2 separate regions of the Homo sapiens genome follow, and region 2 is linked to region 1. Evidence: promoter capture Hi-C in 16 types of primary human blood cells and fetal thymus (Javierre and others, 2016). All regions are on one chromosome and are shown on one strand. Each heading gives the region's core, a stretch centred on a gene start or on the middle of the fragment in contact. The rest is flanking DNA. Distances are from core to core; before and after follow the strand shown.

Region 1 (2,700 bases), core at 10-2,509:
TGTTTCATAGAAGAGAGAACATGTTTCTTGCATTCTTCAGCTCTTAACCACTGTTTTGGGAGTCTCACCAAGTTTTTGGGATGACTAAAGATCTAGAAACATCGCCCCTCCTCATTAATGTATTCAATAAATTATTTATTTTATAGAAAAGATGGAGATGAGTCAAAGAGCTACAAGAGACAGATAACCCACCAATCACATGCTGAACCAGGCAATTACAAAATTTCAATTTCAATTTCAAGAGGTGTTTAGTCCTCACATAAGGGAGAAAATATGGTGCATCTACTTAAGAACAGGACGATGTCCTATTGTGTTGAATCCTTAGCCCTTAGATGCTCAACAAATATTTGTAGACTGCTTAGTTTACCATTCAGGAAATATACACATCACTTTTCCTATTGCAGGTCCTGGGCTAGATCTTGCTAAGGACAAGGACATCCTAATACCCAGGAGGGGAATTAGATCCAGCTTGGCATAATGCAAAGCGGAATTAATAAAGGTTTTAGCCAACACCCAAAGGGCAGAGCAGTGGAGATGGAAATAAGACTTACTTCATATTTCGCAGGAGCTCTCATTTCCTTTTTAGCGCCTGCGTTTTCAGAGCAAATGCCCTTCATAGGGGGGCGCAAAAGCAGGTGAGCCCAGAGAACAGAAGCGGCAGCAGGCTAGCGGAGAAGTGAGAAAACAGGGAAAACCGGGGGACTCCTGGGCCCGTCTGGTTTTGAAAAGAGGGCAAAATGCATTTAGTCACTTTTCTCCTCCGTCCCGCAAATCTCTCAGGATGTGAAATTGTCCGGGGAGGGGCGTGTTACATCACTGAGAGACAGAGGACCTGTCCTTGCTCCAAGAGGCACAGCTTAGGAAACCTAGGAATCCACCTCTGGCGCCTTCTAGAAAACCGCCCACTCCTGCTCCCTAAGAAAAGGAAACCCACGTGACTGGGCGAAAGGGGAGAGCCCGGCGACCTGGAGCCAGCGAGGCTGGGGGCCCGGCGAGGGCCGGGCTGGGCGCGGGGCTGCTTCAAGGAACTGCCGCGCGCTGCGAATCGGGGGCGCGGGCTGGCACTGGGCTCCGCCCGCGGGCCAGAGGCGGGGTAGGGGCGGGACAGGCGCGAGCCTCCGGCACTGGGAACTGGAGCCGAAGCCACCAAGTGCTGGCCCTCCGCCCCTCCCCGTACGGCACCGCCTCCCGCAGCCCGGGGAGGGGCCGGGGCGGAGCGAGCCCGGCCGAGCCGGGAGGAGCGGGCGCGGGCGCTGGCAGAGCGCGGCGCGGGGCCGGCGGCGAAGGTCCGGGGTGGAATCGACGTCGCTGCGGCTGCCGACGACCCACACCCGGCCGGCCGCCTCCGCAGACCCACCTTGGCCGCGCGGCAGGGGGCGCGCAGAGCCCCGAGGGAGCGAGTCCCCGCGCGTGGCAGCTCGGCGGCTTCTCCCTTCGGGAGGTCCGGCTCCCGGCTCTCCGGACCCGCCTGGCGTCCTCGCCTGCGGCGGGGCGGACGACAGCGGCGCCCAGGAATGGCTTCGGCGGGCAGCGGCATGGAGGAGGTGCGCGTGTCGGTGCTGACCCCCTTGAAGCTGGTCGGGCTGGTGTGCATCTTCCTGGCGCTGTGTCTGGACCTGGGGGCGGTGCTGAGCCCGGCCTGGGTCACAGCTGACCACCAGTACTACCTGTCGTTGTGGGAGTCCTGCCGGAAACCCGCCAGCTTGGACATCTGGCACTGCGAGTCCACGCTCAGCAGCGGTGAGGGCCTGGCGCGCCGCGACCCCTGCCTCCCGCCCCGGACTGCCCCGCGCCCCACTGCCAGGACAGTCACCGCCTGTCCCCACGTCCCCGCATCCTCTGCCCTGGCCCGTCCCACCCCGTCCAGGCCCTTCTCGGATCCTGGGGCTCCCGCCACCTCCCTGGCATCCACCCCTCTTCCCTCCCCATCCCTGGTCGCCAAACCTAAAGCGACAGCCCACGCCCTCTCCCTTCCCCGTGGCCATTCCTCCTGTTCTGGAGTAACACGTACGCTATTTTGGGTATTTGTTATCATTTGAGGCGAGAGCCATGTGGCTGTGTAAAAAAATGCGACGCCTTCCACACCCCCGTTAAAAAAGAAGCAGGCAAAAACGCCCCAACTCCACCGAGATGCTGCGGGGGTTCGCTGTTCGGTCTTCCCCACTCTTTTTCCTTCCTCTCTCGAGGACGAATTTGCCTAGTGTTCACATTTCTGCCGGTTCCACTCCACCTTATCTGCGTTTTCACCAATGTATTTCGGTTTGGATTTTATTTCCTTACGTTTTTGATGGATATGAAGAGTTGAGAGAGGGACAGGCTTGTTTTCCTTTCCTTTTTTGGTGACGCCGCCGTTGATTGTGAGTTGCCTTTCTTTCTCTGCCACTCTAAGTAACTCTTCTCTCCTCCAGACCTTTCTTTTCTCCATGAGCTACTCACAGATGCCTAGAAAGTTGTGCTTTATTCCGCCAGCGCTGAAAGCTGCAAATGGATAAGATGGGGGTGGGGAGTGGAGAATAAGGTAGCTACTGAGGCTACCAGTCCCAGGGGGCTTTACTGCTTTCCGCCCTCCCTGACCCTCCAGTTGCCTTCCCCGGCGCCCCAGTTATGCCCTTAGCAAAAATCAGTCAACTTATGATTTCTCGCTACAAACCCCTTCCTTTCTAATTTTGATTCTTCAACTGCTGGTGTCAGCGAAGAGAA
Region 2 (2,700 bases), core at 195-2,694, 2.2 Mb before region 1:
CTGTTAATAAATATTACATAGATGATTTCTGCAATAGGATCTGCTTCTTTTTTTTTTATTAAACATTCAACAAATATTCATTACATTCTGTGTGTCAGATAGGGTATAAGGTGCTAAGGAAACAATGACAAAGAATGCATTTGTAGTTTAGTAAGAAAGACAGATAAATACACTATGATGGTATAGAGTAAGTGCAGTACTAAAAGTTAAGTGTAAGGTACTATAAAATCACATAACAGGGACACTAGGTTGGAGGGACATGATCAGGGAAAGCTGTGCAGAGGAAGTAGATATGAGATATGAATGATATTAAGGTGTTAGCCAGATCAAGGGGATGAGTGCTTGTCCAGATTGGTGAACATATACTATACAAAGAGACAGCTTTCCTAGAAGAAGAAATTAAAAATGAGGAAGACAAGGAAAGGACAGGGAAGTTTTTTTTGTTTGTTTGTTGTTTGTTTTTTGTTTTCTTTTTTGAGGCAGAGTCTCGCTCTGTCGCCAGGCTGGAGTGCAGTGGCACAATCTTGGCTCACTGCAACCTCCGCCTCCCGGGTTCAAGCGATTCTCCTGCCTCAGCCTCCCTAGTAGCTGGGACTACAGTTGCATGGCACCACACCCAGGTAATTTTTGCATTTTTAGTAGAGACGGGATTTCACCATGTTGGCCAGGATGGTCTCGATCCCTTGACCTTGTGATCTGCCCACCTCAGCCTCCCAAAGTGTTGGGATTACAGGCGTGAGCCACCGCGCATGGCCCAGGACAGGGAAGTTTTAAGAGAGGGGGCAAGATAGTATATGGCCATGCAAGCCGTGTCAGGGCATTTGAACTTATACAGGAGAGCAATGATGACTCTATAAAAGAGAGTAATGTAGTCGGACTTGCATTTTAGGAAGACCACTCTGACAGCAATATTTGTTTTAATATGTCACTTCTGTCATGCTAAAGTTTTCAGTACAGTGGATTCTGTGCAGAATTTAGGCAGAGATAGAGACGAAAAATTCAGGGTTTGCAATGATAGTTCACCTCATGAATTTCATCTACTTCTAAAGCTTATCCAATAGCATCAATATAGAAGATTCCCAGACCAAATCCTGGCTACCTATATCTTATCATTAATACAAGCGAAGTTATGGAGTAGCCTTAGTTTAAGACACCCTTTCATTATTCCTTCATTTCATTAAATCCTCTACCACCTGGTCCTCCTTTATTAATTTTTCCGTCATATTTCTTCCAGATGAGATATAACTTTTAATTGTTCCATATATGGCAACAATGTCATGCTTTCTGACGATGGAGAGTGTTCTTTTCTGATTTTTCCTGTGGGAAAATGTGGAAGAGAAAAAACAAAATGTGAACAATTAGCAGAAATATTGATAATCTCTATACTATCACTCAAATACTTTCTCACTTAGCTATTCCTGTGTTTCAAGTTATCTGCCAGAAAGTTATAAATTTCCCATGTAAACAGATATCTAGAAATGAAGTTTAGAATTTTACTGAGCTGAGTTTGAAAAGCTGGAATTTACATTTTTGAATTGATGTAATCTCTCTACAATGGAACTGGTTAATGGATTCATTGAAAAAAAAACATATACAGGGATCTGTAGTGTGATTTACTTATTCCTGTTTTGAAATATGATTAAATATGACTCAGTAAGGAAGAGGTTAAAAATGTGACAGGTAGAGGGTCGTTTCTTCTCTTACAGTATGTCATAGTTCTGGCAAGCCAGTTACAGATCACAGCTGCCTAATTTGTACCCTTGTTCTTAAGTTGGTGGAGGCAGATAGTGGGTCAACAGAAGGAGAGCGTCTATGGAAGGAATCTCAGAACAAGCTTCACATTATTTGACTCTAACCTAGATTATTTCATTTTTATGATTAACAGCTAAAAAATCGCACATTACATTTAAAATTCATTAGAAACCACAATTTAGAGTGACATTGATGCACATTCATTATGCACTGAAGATAGCGGCCTCCCACTATTAAAAACTGTTATTCATCCTTTCTTGTTATTTCATTTCTTTGATGCTTGAGTTAGTGCTTCCAGTTTCTATTAACTGCTCCCGTGAGGTGAACTGAGAAGACTCTGGTTTTTAACCTGACTCCATGTTCTAGCTAGAGAGATTACCAAGATGAGGCTACAGGGATCAAAGAATACTACTTAACGTTTATTAGATGGGAAGGAACAGGGAGTTGCCAGAGTAGTAGCAGGACCCCTTAAGGCTGGAGTAATTCATCGAAACAAAAATGTATTATGTGTCAGCCAGGATAAGAGTAGTTGTAAAGATAAAAGCAATAATCATAACAAAGTAGAGCTGGTACCTATTCAGTATGGGGGAAATCCAAAAACAGATTGGAAACAGGAGGGGCTACCCATCTGCTATGAACAAGTGGGTCATTCACCACTGTGTATTGAGAAAATAATGGTGGAGTGAAAGATCCCCCACAATGAAATAGGGCTGAAAGAAGATAGAGGATTTTAGTCATTTATTCGCCTAGAATTTCTCCTTTTTCTTTCTTTAACGAAACAACTTGAAGGTATAATTCTTTTTTTCTTATTTATTTTAATTGACAAATAACATTTGTATATATCTATCATGTATAACATGTTGTTTTGAAATATATATACACTGTGTAATGGCAAAATTGGGCTAATTAACATTCACATTACCTCTCATCATTTGTGTTTTGTCATGA

What was found. The method cuts DNA at HindIII sites, captures the fragments that hold promoters and counts their contacts. A CHiCAGO score of 5 or more calls a contact.
Region 2: a fragment that was not itself captured here is called in contact with the fragment with the promoter of TMEM47 in region 1 in 1 of 17 cell types (M0 macrophages); the score reaches 6.2 in M0 macrophages.

What each region holds. Positions count from the first base shown.
Region 1 is chrX:34,655,844-34,658,543 of GRCh38, reverse strand. It overlaps TMEM47 (transmembrane protein 47), which reads left to right and starts at 1,259. Exons shown (of 3, transcript NM_031442.4): 1 at 1,259-1,740. The coding sequence starts at 1,515. The HindIII fragment of the contact is 6,187 bases long and covers 1-2,700 here.
Region 2 is chrX:36,877,664-36,880,363 of GRCh38, reverse strand. No RefSeq gene overlaps it. Among named protein-coding and RNA genes, the nearest start is that of FAM47C, 130 kb to the left of the region's middle. The HindIII fragment of the contact is 785 bases long and covers 1,052-1,836 here.